Linked DNA regions of Homo sapiens: all the other regions are linked to region 1. Evidence: promoter capture Hi-C in human tissues and cell types (Jung and others, 2019). All regions are on one chromosome and are shown on one strand. Each heading gives the region's core, a stretch centred on a gene start or on the middle of the fragment in contact. The rest is flanking DNA. Distances are from core to core; before and after follow the strand shown.

The links. Contacts are between HindIII fragments. The study calls those that stand out against the background at their distance.
Region 2: a contact is called between a fragment that was not itself captured here and the fragment with the promoter of FAM221A in region 1, in 5 of the 25 tissues and cell types used here (H1 embryonic stem cells, adrenal gland, hippocampus and 2 more).
Region 3: a fragment that was not itself captured here is called in contact with the fragment with the promoter of FAM221A in region 1 in 3 of the 25 tissues and cell types used here (adrenal gland, neural progenitor cells and thymus).
Region 4: a fragment that was not itself captured here is called in contact with the fragment with the promoter of FAM221A in region 1 in 6 of the 25 tissues and cell types used here (H1 embryonic stem cells, aorta, dorsolateral prefrontal cortex and 3 more).

The regions. Positions count from the first base shown.
Region 1 is chr7:23,678,781-23,681,963 of GRCh38, reverse strand. FAM221A (family with sequence similarity 221 member A) reads right to left here and starts at 1,765. Exons shown (of 7, transcript NM_199136.5): 1 at 1,681-1,765. The coding sequence starts at 1,745. RefSeq lists an enhancer at 962-1,211 and a silencer at 1,542-1,831. The HindIII fragment of the contact is 14,044 bases long and covers 1-3,183 here.
Region 2 is chr7:23,574,604-23,578,088 of GRCh38, reverse strand. No RefSeq gene overlaps it. Among named protein-coding and RNA genes, the nearest start is that of CCDC126, 21 kb to the left of the region's middle. The HindIII fragment of the contact is 4,271 bases long and covers 1-3,485 here.
Region 3 is chr7:23,558,559-23,562,084 of GRCh38, reverse strand. No RefSeq gene overlaps it. Among named protein-coding and RNA genes, the nearest start is that of TRA2A, 28 kb to the right of the region's middle. The HindIII fragment of the contact is 5,117 bases long and covers 1-3,526 here.
Region 4 is chr7:23,591,356-23,594,825 of GRCh38, reverse strand. The region is part of intron 1 of LOC105375187 (a long non-coding RNA gene); the gene reads left to right. Among named protein-coding and RNA genes, the nearest start is that of CCDC126, 4.3 kb to the left of the region's middle. RefSeq lists an enhancer at 1,035-1,084. The HindIII fragment of the contact is 6,372 bases long and covers 1-3,470 here.

The sequences.
Region 1 (3,183 bases), core at 516-3,015:
CCTCCCAACCGACTCCCACCGAAGTACCTAGGCAAGAGCAAATCCAGGAAAACTCTTCGGAAGGAAAGTTTGTTTCCTTCTAAACTCATATTTTGACTCATCTTCCCACCCCACCTTCCCAGCCCACCTTTTCATATCTAGGTACTCAAGTCCTGTTTTCCCCACTTTTCTAAAATTCTGACGTCAGTAAAGGACCTGATAATCTCTTTCAGAGGGAAGTGTTGCAAGTTATTTACGATTGCAAAAATAATTTCCCAGCCGGGCGCGGTGGCCCAGGCCTGTAATCCCAACACTTTAGGAGGCCGAGGCAGGTGGATAGCTTGAGTCCAGGAGTTCAAGACCAGCCTGGGCAACGTGGTGAAATCCCGTCTCTACAGAAAATACAAAAATTAGCTGGCCGCCTGTAGTCCCAGCTACTCGGGAGGCTGAGGCAGGAGAATCACTTGAACCCAGGAAGCGGAGATTGCGGTGAGCCGAGATCGCGCCACTGCACTCCAGCCTGGGAAAGAGTCAGACCCCGTCTCAATAAAATAAATAACTAAATAATTTCTCAATAAAATAAATAACTACATACATAGGTCTGCCCTAACATGTTCGGAGCTAGGCAAGAGTCAACTGGAGGCCCACAATTCACATATCTAAATATCCAAGTTATCAGTCAACACCAGCTCCAGCAACTTGCTCCCAGGCAAAAGCTCTGGAGAACTGGAGGCTAAAGGAGCCGGCTCTGCTCTGGGAGAGGACGGGATGGTGGTTGTTCTGACCCTGAACCGGGCGTGGGAACTGACCCCATCAAGCTCCTAGCCCTTATTCTTCTGGCTCAGAATATCCAGGCAGTTCTAAGGGTTACCCAAAACTACACAAACAGGGCAGTCAGAGCAGGGGAGAACAGTCAGCTGGGGGGCCGTCTGCGCGCACACCTCTGGGTCATCTGGGCCACCCACGATGCCGCAGAGGAGCCCCTGTCGCTCGCTCCGGCCTCCCTGGCGGAGCCTGGAGCGTCTCCCCTCCGCTTGTACACACACATCCTCCCGCCCCAACTCCGCGTCCTCAGGCGGTCCTCTCCAGGACTTCCCATCCGCCCAGATTCCGGACGATCAAAAACCCCAGGAAGCGGAAAAAGAGCGCGTCGCTGCAGGTGCACCAGCCTCGGTCAGGATCCAGGACAATGAACCGCGTCCTCAGGCCAAAGGAGCGACTCCGTTTCCAGTTTCGGAAGGGGTTTCTCCAGAATACCAAACACCAGTCGGTGCCTTTCTCCTAAAACCAGCACCTCGGGGTGGGGAGCGCGTTCAGAAGTTCACGGTTGACTCAATTACTGGGTTAATTTGATGTATGCTAACTTCTATAGCCCCGAGTACTCGATGTGCCTGTTTTCAATGGCCATTTAAAAAACAGCTGGACCTCTGTATCAATCTAGAGTTAGTCATCCTTCTTGGAAGGGAGCAGAGGGGCCTCTTAAATGTTATTGGAAGACTCATCACTGCATAGAACCGCGTGGCCCTACAATATTTAATTAGGCAAAGACTAAACTGGAATTCATCTAGGCCTCCCCCAACAGCCCAGGCACAGATTCCGGGAACCCCCGCGGACGCCCGCCGGGCCCCTGCTCGCGCCCCCAGCCCAGGGATCCTGGCCCCTCGGAGCGGCGGGGGGGCAGGCCCGGAGCCACAGCCTCACCTCCGGTACTCCAGGTACTCGTCCACCGCCGCCGCGCCGCCGAGAGGCAACGTCAACCGCTCCATTGCCGGTGGGGAAGCCAAAGGCTTCCCTGCGGACCAGCTGACCTCGAAGCCCGACCCGCCCCGTTCCCTCCCGGTACCGCGCCCCCTCCCGCCCGCCTCCTGATTGGCCCGGCCTGAAGCCCGAGGAGGCCGCGCGCGGCAACTGCGCAGGACGCGCGCCCCTACTGGCTGCCGGCGCCAGGCACCAGAACCCGGATCTCCGCAAGCGCAGCCTCGCGCCACATGGAGTGCAGTTTGCCGCCCTCCACAAACCTTGCACCTATTCCCCTCTCCCTTCCCTGGACCGGCGAGTCTTCTTGTAAATTAACAAGTGACAAGGGAGTGCAGTGCCTTGCATATAACAGGCGCATAGAAAATGGCTTATTTCTTTGTACAGCTCTTTTCGCTTAATCCATCTCTTGAAATATAAGTAGTTTTGAGAAGGTTCTGCTTTAGTTTGAGGCCTGCCTCTCCTTAACTGTCGGCCTGTTTCCAGTATTGGCGTTTTCAAAAACTCTGATGTAACAATCAGTAGTCCTGGGTATCTGGGTTCACTTTGGGGGTTGCTAAAGCTACATGTTCTTCAAAGGAACCGAATAACTGATTTAAGGTGAAGCAAGTAAAAACAATTTAGGTGAAGTTTTGTTGTTGTTTTTTAACTTTTGGAAACACTCTGCAAAATATATTTAGAAGCTGAATTACCATGCGATTGGTAATTTGGCCATAATTTGACTTAGCACGTTGTGGAAAAGAATAGGAAATCTTCAGGCGAAGTCATTAAACTCTGAAGCTCCCAGGGGATCAGCTTTAGCGCCCTCTGTAAAGTATCTGGGAGGGAGAATATGCAAACAATAAGAAAAATAATTAAACTTCAGTACAGTACTTTAGTTTCAAAGTACTGTTCTACATATTTCAGGTCCATAAAACATTATGTAAACAAATTGTTTGGGTACCACCCACCTCCCTTCTCGGTACCCTTTCAACAAACCCCACCCTCTCCCCAAAGTCTTCCTCCTGTTCAGAGGCGTTCTTGACAGTCAGATAAATGAGTGATCCTGAAATCGGATTCATATTTTAGGAAACTGATCTCAGCTCAGTATTCTCTCCTATCACACGTGTGGTTTGCTGCTGTCCATTTTACCTCTTCCACCCGACACCTCCCAGATGGGGTCTTGCTCCGTCTCCAAGGCTGGAGTGCAGTGGCGGGATCTCGACTCACTGCAATCTCTGCCTCCTAGGTTCAAGCAATTCTCCTGCCTCAGCCTCCTGAGTAGCTGGGATTACAGGCACTAGCCACCACGCCTGGCTTTTGTGTGTGTGTGTGTGTGTGTATTTTTAGTAGAGACAGGGTTTCACCATGTTGGCCAGGCTGGTCTTGATCTCCTGACCTCGTGATTTGCCCGCCTCAGCCTCCCAAAGTGCTGGGATTACAGGCGTGAGCCACCACGCCCAGCCCCAT
Region 2 (3,485 bases), core at 177-2,676, 100 kb after region 1:
GCCAATTTTTGTATTAATTTGGAGAAATTTCACTCATCTGATGCCATACTTATATTAAAAAATTAACCATGGTCTGGGTACAGTGGCTCACGCCTGTAATCCACTTTGGGAGCCCGAGGCGGGTGGATCACCTGACATCAGGAGTTGGAGACCAGCCTGGCCAACATGGTGAAATCCCGTTTCTACTAAAAATACAAAAATTAGCCGGGCGTGGTGGCACATGCATGTAATCCCAGCTACTCGGGAGGCTGAGGCAGAAGAATCGCTTGAACCCGGGAGGCAGAGGTTGCAGTGAGCTGAGATTGTGCCATTGCACTCCAGCGTGGGCGACAAAGCAAGACTCCATCTCAAAAAAAAAAAAAAAAGAACCATGAATTTTTAAACATTCACATTGAGGTGTACAACCTGTATACAGTAAAGTGCACAAAGCTTAAGTGTATAACTCAATACCTTTGTGCATGTTTATGCCCATGAAACCCACCACCCAGATCAAGAAATAGATCAGCTCCCCAGTAAGATCTCTCAGGCCCCTTTCTATTCTTTCTGTACCCCACAAAGTAAGCAGTATTCTTTTTTTTTTTTTTTTGGAGACAGGGTCTCTGTAGTCCACGTTGGAGTGCAATGGTGCTTTCTGAGCTCACTGCAACCTCTGCCTCCTGGACTCAAGTCGTCCTCCCACTTCAGCTTTGTATTTTTTGTAGAAACAACGTTTGGCCATATTGCCCAGGCTGATCTCAAACTCGTGGATTCAAGTAATTCACCCACCTCGGTCTCCCAAAGTGCTGGGATTACAGATGTGAGCCACTGTACCCGGCCCTAAAGTAAGCACTAGTCTTACCTCTAGCATCATATACCATGACAATAAAATGATGCCATTAATTGTTTATTGTAATGCATATAATAAATTATTATAATAAAAATATTGCAAATATTTTAATTTTACTATACAAATTGCTTTCAGTTATATTGCAATTTTCTTTTTCTTATTTTTTAAAAAAATTAGAGACGGAGGTCTGGCTATTTTGCCGAGGCTGGTCTCGAACTCCTGGCCTCAAGCAATCTTCCCACCTTGGGCCTTCAAAGTGCTGGGATTACAGGCGTGAAGCACCATGCCTGGCCTATTATCTCTTTAAAAACAATATATCCATAGAATATTAAATTCTGGCCGGGCATGATGGCTCACACCTGTAATCCCAACACTTTGGGGGGCTGAGGCGGGTGGATCACCTGAGGTCAGTTCAAGACCAGCCTGGCCAACATGGTGAAACCCCATCTCTACCAAAAATACAAAAATTAGCCAGGAATGGTGGCTTGTTCCTGTAGTCCCAGCTACTCAGGAGGCTGAGGCAGGAGAATCATTTGAACCCAGAAGGTGGAGGTTGCTGTGAGCTAAGACCGCATCACTGTACTACAGCCTGGGCAACAGAGTGAGACTCTGTCTCAGAAAAAAAAAAAAGAAGGAGAATATTTATTAAGTTGTTTCAAAGTTTTTAATGCTGGGGCATTACAAAAAAAACTAAAATTGGGAGTATGCTAATCAATTTGTTTAAATGTCTCTTCAATCTATCATATCTAGAAAGCATGCTTTATGGAAATGTTTGATGGTTATTTGTACATGAATCATCTCATTTATGAAATTTATATAAACTTTTCTGTTTCTTTGCTCTAATTTCTGCATATTTTATTTGAATGTCATCTTGTTCAGTATACTTTGTTTTAGAACTATTTTCTCTTCCCTAGAAACAGACTCAGAAAAAAAAGAACTATTTTCTCTAAAATTTAAAAAATATTTTCTCAAAAGTGAAACTTGGATATGTAAGGTTTTTTGCTAAAGCTTTGCTAACATTAGTAATAGCAATGAATAGGAATTAATGACATTAGAAATAGTAATACCAAATAACTGTGACTAGTGCAACTTCAAAATAAATTTCATTCTCCCACAAAGCTCACAAATTGCTCTTTGCTTAAAGATCTTCTTTTGTTTTGTTTAACTTTTCTAGTGCATTGTATATCTTGTCTAAATTAAATCCAATTACGTTAACAACATTTAATAAACATTTTCCTCCTGTGTTCAAAAGTGATTTTGTTTATACTTCATCAGGGTGTTCAGTGTTTGGGCAGATCAAGAATACTATATTTAGGCCAGGCACGGTGGCCTGTAATCCCAGCACTTTGGGAGGCCAAGGCAGGTGGATCACTTGAAGCCAGGAGTTCGAGACCAGCCTGGCCAACATGGCGAAACCCTGTCTCTACTAAAAATACAAAAATTAGCTGGGCATTCTGGCATGCACCTGTAATCCCTGCTACTGGGGAGGCTGAGGCATGAGAATCGCCTGAACCTGGCGGTGGAGACTGTAGTGAGCTAAAACCGTGCCACTGCATTCCAGTCTGGGTGACAGAGCGAGACCCTGTGTCAAGAAAAGAAAAAAAAAAAAAGAATAGTGTATTTAGTCTTTGATTTGATCCAGAGAATATCATTGCTATTGGCTGATTAACATCCAACTAATTCGAAGTGGCATAAGTGATTTCAAGAATGTTTCTGGATTTTTGGCTAAAATTATAGCATGTATACTTTATTTTAGCAAGGCCTTTATTGTAGGCTTTATTGTGCTTGGGGTGGAGGATATCACAAAGTTACAGACACACACTACTAGTGCCATATGTGCATCTATAACAGGATTTACTGGTAGAGCACACACAGTCCCCTGAACTCTTGCTATTTCATAACACAGGCCTGGCCTAGATGTTTTTGTTTTATTTTGAGACAGAGTCTCACTCTGTCACCCAGGCTAGAGTGCAGTGGCACGATCTCGGCTCACTGCAACCTCTACCTCCTGGGTTCAAGCAATTCTCCTGACTCAGCCTCCCAGGTAGCTGGGATTACAGGCATGCACCACCATGCCCACCTAATTCTTGTATGCTTAGTAGAGATGAGGTTTCACCATGTTGGCCAGGCTGGTCTCGAACCCCTGACCTCCAGTGATCCACCCACCTGGGTCTCCCAAAGTGCTGGGATTACAGGCATGAATCACCATGCCTGGCCCTGGCCTACATGTTCTGAATGCAACTTGGCCAAAGTCTCTGGGGCCAGCCTAAGGCAAAAGACTAGACATGCCATGAACAGCAGTCGAGAAGACAGGACCTTGCCTCCTCACTGTTACATACTTAAAAATTTTTGAACTAAACGGGAGTGGGGGTGGCTCACGCCTGTAATCCCAGCACTTCGGGAGGCCGAGACGGGCGGATCACGAGGTCAGGAGATCGAGACCATCCTGGCTAACACGGTGAAACCCGGTCTCTAATAAAAATACAAAAAAAAAAAAAAAAAATTAGCCAGGTGTGGTGGCAGGCGCCTGTAGTCCCAGCTACTCGGGAGGCTGAGGCAGGAGAATGGCGTGAACCCAGGGGCAGAGCTTGCAGTGAGCCAAGATCGCGCCACTGCCCTCCAGCCTGGGCGACAGAGCGAGACTCCGTCTCAAAAAAAA
Region 3 (3,526 bases), core at 519-3,018, 120 kb after region 1:
AAGTATGCCAGTGTAACGAAACTGCCCTCATTTTAAAAGCCAGTCAAAGATTCCACTGATTGACATTTGATAAATAAACATCAGGATTATGTTTATTATTTGTTTTCAGTCTTTGCACTATATTATCAGTATATGGTTTCCGAGAAAGATTATCTACTGCAAAACACCACTGTTGGAAAAATAAGTATTTTTTAATTGTTTTTAATCTTTTTGGTGCTTTTGAACATGTTTAGCAGAAACCAATTCTGTTCCCTTCCTCCCAAAAAAAACCTAACTTTACTCTGAATTTTTTAGTTTTTGCATTCCGTAAGGTTCTGTATTCAGTCATTCTCTGGGTAATGTCATTTTTTTACACATATATTTATATAATCACTGATCGAGATTTAGGAAAAAGCATTTCTTTTTTTCTTATTCTTCTTCTTCTTCTTAGGAAAAAGCATTTCTAAAGAATATTTGCTTCCCTTACAACCACAGACTCAAAATCTTTAAAGATGGAACCTAAGCATCTATGTATTTTTTTAAAGTTCCACAGATTTTTCCAGTGGGCACCCAAGAATTATAAACCACTTCCCTAAAGGCAACATTAATGCAAAAGTCCCCAAATAGCAATACGAAGTATTCCTTGATACCACATACATTCATTTATGAGTTTGGATATAGAACACATTATCTAAACATTTTTTTAGTTCCAAAAACCCATCCAAATTTCTTTAGTTCCTGAATTTTGAACAGGATTACCTGTAGCCTGGAGCCACTTTAAGTTGTACTTCTGACAAAACTGGAATTAACTTATGAGTGAGGAAGAGGGTTTACTAAATAAATGACTAGAGCAAGCAAAATTGAGGGGGAAATTAGAAAGCATTTCACAAACTTTAAGAGCTACTTGAAATAATAGAAGTCTTGATTAATATGCAAATAATGGCTAGAAAGTGTGGTTTAATTGGATCTCATTATACCTCTTTAAAAAAATTTATGTGAGTAATCCATAAATACACGTTGTAAAAATTCAAATATATAGAATGGGATAAAAAATGATCTCCCTTTATTACCCTCCCAAAGGTTCCCAGTGTTTGAATTTAATAATGTATATTCTTTCATGTTTTTTTCTGTGTACTTCCTAAGTGTGAATATGTAAAGGGTTTGTTTTCTATGCAAATTGGATTATACTAAAATAAGTAATGCCTACTTTTAAGGATAGGTTAAATTTGTGAATGATTAAGTTCAAATAATATTGAATAAAATAAGCAAAAGCTATAAAAAATAGCAGAATTAAATGAAATAGAGACTTAAAAACAATACAAAGGATCAATGAAAGAAAACGTTGGTTTTTTGAAAAGATATACAAAATTGATAAACCTGGCTAGACTAATCAAGAAAAAAAAGGAAGAAGACCTAAATAATCAAAATTGGGGGAAAAAAGGAGACATTACAACTGATTCCACACATACACAAAAGATTATTAGAGACTATAACAAGCCACTATATGCTAAGAAATGGAAGGAGATGGAAAATTTTTGGACACACAACCACGAAGATTGAACTACAAAGAAATAGAAAACCTAAACAGACTAATAATGAGGAATGAGATTGAATCAGTAATTTAAAAAAACTCCCGACAAAGAAAAGTCCAGGACCAGATGGCATTGCTGCTGAATCGTATCAATCGTATACAGAACAATGTACGCCAATTCTTCCCAAACTATTCCAAAGAAACTAAGAGAAGGAGGTACTTTTTAACTCATCCTGTCAGATCAGCATAACCCTGATACCAAAACCAGACAAGGACATCACAAAAAAAGACTATGGGCTGAGATCTCTGATAAACATAGAGTCAACAATCCTCAACAAAATATTATCATATTGAATCCAAAAACACGTTAAAAAGATATTTAGACAGATACCATGATCACATGGGATTCATCCAGCTGATGCAACAATGGTTCAACATATGCAAATCAATGTAAACATTATAAGACCAGGTGTGGTGGCTCACACCTGTAATCCCAGCACTTTGGGAGGCTGAGTTGGGAGGACTGCTTGAGGCTGGGAGCTTGAGATAAGCCTGGGCAGCATGGTGAGACCCATCTCTACAAAAAATTTAAAAATTAGCTGGATGTAATGATGCATGCCTGTAGTCCCAGCCAGTTAGGAGGCTGAGGTGGGAGGTCGAGGTTGCAGTAAGCTTTCATCGCACCACTGCAGTCCAGCCTGGGTGAGATCCTGCCTCAAAAAAAAAAAAAAAAAAAAAAGTCAACATCACTTATCATCAGGAAAATACAAATCAAAACCATAATAAGACAACATCTTACCCCAGTTATAATGGTTATTATTGAAAAGAAAAAAAAATAACACACCAGGCATGGTGGCTCACACCTGTAATCCCAGCACTTTGGGAGGCCGAGGTGGGTGGATCACTTGAGGTCAGGAGTTCTAGACCAGCCGGGCCAACATGGTGAAACCCCATCTCTACTAAAAATACAAAAATTAGCTGGGTGTGGTGGCAGGCGACTGTAATCTCAGCTACTCAGAGGCTGAGGCAGGAGAATCGCTTGAATCCAGGAGGCAGGGTTTGGAGTGAGCCAAGATGGTACCACTGCACTCCAGCCTGGGGGACAGAGTGAGAATCCATCTCAAAAAGGAAAAAAATAAGTTATGGTACAAACATACAGTTAGGTAGTAGGTAGTGTTCAATAGCCCAGTAGGGTGACTATGTTTAACAACAATATATTGTATATTTCAAAATTGCAAGAAGGGAAGATTTGAAATGTTCCCAACACAAAGAAATGATCAATGTTTGATGTGAAGGATATCTTAAGTACCCTAACTTGATCATTACACATTCTATGCATATATCAAAATATCAGTTACATCATAAATATGTACAAATATTAGTATCAATTAAAGAAAAATAGCCAGATGTGGTGGTGCATGCATCCCATCTACTTGGTAGGCTGATGCAGGAGGATCACTTGAGCCCATAAGTTCAAGGCCAGCCTGGGCAGCATAGCAAGACCCCATCTCTAAAAAATAATAATAAAATAAACAAATAAATAAAAATAAAATGAATGAAATCTGAGGTGAGAAAGAATACATTACAACTGATGCCACAGAAACATAAAGGATTATTAAAGACTGTTATAAACAACAGCATGCTAACAAATTGGACAACTTAGGAATATATATATATATTCCTGGACACATACAAACTACCAGGATCAAATCATGAAGAAATAGAAAACTTAAACAGACCAATAACAAGTAACAAGATTAAAGCCATAATAAAAAGTCTGCCAATAAAGAAAAGCCCAGGACCAGATGCCTTCACTGCTATATTCTACCAAGCTTGTAAAGAAATAATACCAATTCTATTCAGACCTATTCCAGAAAATTAATAAGAAGGTACTGCTTCTTCTGTGAGGCCAGCTTTACCCTGATACCAAAACCTAATGAAGACACAATAACAAAAGAAAACTATATTCTAGTACCCCTGAGAAACATAGTCAACAATCCTCAACAAAATACTAAC
Region 4 (3,470 bases), core at 171-2,670, 87 kb after region 1:
ATAGCTGGTTGGAGTCCCAGAAAACTTGGCATGCCTTAATGTTTGAAAATCCCAGGCAGAGTACAGTGGCTTACATTTATAATCTTGACACTTTGGGAGGCTAAGGCAGGAGGATCTCTTGAGGCCAGGAGTTTGAGACAGCCTGAGCAACATAGTGAAACACCGTCTCTTCAAAACAAAACAAAACAAAAAAAGTAGCTGGGCATGGTGGCGTGTACCTGTAGTCCTAGCTACTTGAGCCTAGGGGTTCAAGGCTGCAATGATCTATGATTGCATCACTGAACTCCAGCCAGGGAGACAGAGTGAGACTCTGTTTCTTAAAAAAAAAAAGAAAGAAAGAAAAATTAAGAAAACCCCATTACATTACTTATCAATCTCTCAAGAGCAAAGAAAATTATCAATCTTGTCAGAATGTCATAAGTTTGGACCAATGTATTTGATGGTAGCAACCACTCTAGTGGCTTTTACTTAGCCATCCTGTGTCCATCATTTAGAATGTGTCCATTCTAAAAGAATGTTTATTTTTGCTCTCAGAAGATTTTCAGAAACAAGCAAGGGAAAAGAGCAACATAAAGGGAAAAGAACAACAAAAAAGTTGCATGTAACCAAAATAAAACCAAGAAAGTTCATAAAAATTTTAACCCAGGCATGTGGATCAGACAAAATATTAAAGTAGGCACACAGACCAAAAGTAAATTCATCAGAAAAGATATGCCTCACAGACAGAATGGAAATTCTGTAGAAATCAGAAAAGACTTCCCAGAAAATACAAAAAGTCTTTGTTTAATCCCAGGAGGGATGTAAAGTCCTTTATTTAGGGCTGCCTTATTCAAATCAGACCCCAAATAAAGTCAAGAGCTTCTACCATAAAGAAGGGGGCGTGGTCTTAGAGAAGACTCATCAGGGCAGAAAAAGTGAGCCATGGAAGCAGAGAACTGAAATGAGTACTGCACCAGATTCAAGAACTGTCAGTTCCTTGTGATAGTGATCTTTTTTCAGGTCCTGTTTCTGGCACCATTTGTGTCAACCTAAACAACAGAGAGAGGCTCTCTAAAAGAAAAATATGTTTATTTGGGAATAGGGCATTGCAATGGGAATACACATGCCACAGTAAACTATGTGTGTATTCAAGGAGGTAAAGGAAGACAAAGGTTTTTACAGGAAAAATTAGGGGCATTACATAATTGTTTTGAAATTATCCTTGGCTACAAGAATCTATAATAACAAGGGTGGCTCGAGTCTGAGGTTAGACAGACAATTGCTGAGCAGATATCCTCATAGAAGTACGTTTTGTGTAAGGTTACAATGACCATTGTTAATGTTGTGATTTTCCAGAGTCTTCTGTGGTAATTTTGTTATCAGGCATGCAAGTGTGAGAATGCTCTCTTCTTAGGTTTCCTGGCTGTATTTGTCAGGGTCTTTGGGGAATTTTTACACAAATGATTCCATTTTGATACTGTCAACTTTCATAGTAATTAAGGCAGTGTGGAAGGAGATCAAAAATAGACAAATCTACCAGTAATACAGAATAGAGAGCCCAGTGACCTGGGTGTGGTGGTGCACACCTGTAGCCCCAGCTATTTGGGAGGCTGAGACAGGAGGATCACTTGGGCCCAGGAGTTTGAGACTGCCTGGCAATGCAAAGCAACACCTAAAGAACACTTTTCAATGATTGAATGGCACTGGAACAAATAGTGCTCTATTTGGAAAAGAAATGAAATTGGACTCTTCACATTATACACAAAAGTCAATTTCAGGTAACTAACAGACACTTTTTTTATTTTTAAGAGACAGGGTCTCGCTTTGTTGCCCAGACTGAAGTGTAGTGCTGTGATCATAGCTTACTGCAGCCTCAAACTCCCGGGCTCAAGCAACCCTCCCAAGCAGCTAGGACTACCAGCATGTGCCACCAAGCCCAAGTAATTTTTTTTAAGAGACGGGATCTTGCTGTGTTGTCCAGGCTGGTCTCAAACTCCTGCCTCGGCCTCCCAAAGTGCTGGATTACAGGAGTGAGTCATGATGCCCAGCTGAAACATAAATTTTAAAGGCAGAAGAATGAAGCTATCTATCTGCAGACTTTAAAGTGAGAAGGAAAAAAAAGAAATAATGCTTTTATTGTTTTTAAAGATAATAAAACAGTATATTGATCTCAAGGGTAAGGGGACAGACTTTTTAAACGAATCCAAAAAGCACTACCTATAATAGGAAAATAGGTAAATTTGACCACATTAACATTAAGACAGCCAGGCTCAATGGCTCACGCCTGTAATCCCAGCATTTAGGGAGGCTGAGGCAGGCGGATCACCTGAGGTCAGGAGTTCAAGACCAGCTGGCCAACATGGTGAAACCCCATCTCTACAAAAATACAAAAATTAGCTGGGCAAGGTGGTGCATGCCTGTAATCCCAGCTACTCAGGAGGCTAAGGCAGGAGAATTGCTTGAACCCGGGAGGCAGAGGTTGCAGTGAGCTGAGATCGCGCCATTGCACTCCAACCTGGTGACTGAGCGAGATTCTGTCTCAAAACAAAACAAAACAAAACAAAACAAAACAAAAACAAAAAAAAACATTAAGACTTGGTTTTATCAAATTACACCATTAAAAGAGTTAAAAGGCAAGCCTCACAGATGATTAAGAAATTTACAATATGGGCCAGATGCAGTGGCTCACTCCTATAACCCCAGCATTTTGGGAGGCCAAAGCGGGTGGATCACCTGAGGCCAGGAGTTTGAGACCAGCCTGGACAACATAGTGAAAGCCTGTCTCTACTAAAAATACAGAAATTAACCGGGTGTGGTGGCGGGCACCTGTAATCCCAGCTACTCAGAAGGCTGAGGCAGGAGAATTGCTTGAACCCGGGAGGCGAAGGTTGCAGTAAGCCGAGGTCGCGCCATTGTACTCCAGCCTGGGTGATAAGAGCGAAACTCCATCAAAAAGAAAGAGAGAGAGAAAGAAAGAAATTTGCAACATGTATAACCAAGAAAGGTCTTGTATCTAGAATATATAAAGAACTATAATCATTAAGAAAAAGAGTTCAGGCCGAGCACGGTGGCTCACACCTGTAATCCCAGCATTTTGGGAGGCCGAGGTGGGCAAATCACTTGAGGCCGGGAGTTCAAGACCAGCCTGGGCAACATGGCGAAACCCTGTCTCTACTAAAAATACAAAAACTAGCCCAATGTGCTGATGCATGCCTGAAGCCAAGGTTGCAGTAAGCAGAGATCACGCCACTGCACTCCAGCCTGTACGACAGAGCAAGACACTGTCTCAAAAAAGAAAGAAAGAAAAGAAAAGAAAAAGAAAAAGAGCTGGCCGGGCGCGGTGGCTCACACCTGTAATCCCAGCACTTTGGGAGGCCGAGGCGGGCGGATCACGAGGTCAGGAGATTGAGACCATCCTGGCTAACATGGTGAAACCCCGTCTCTACTAAAAATAAAAAAAATCAGCCGGGTGTGGTGGCACGCACCTGTAG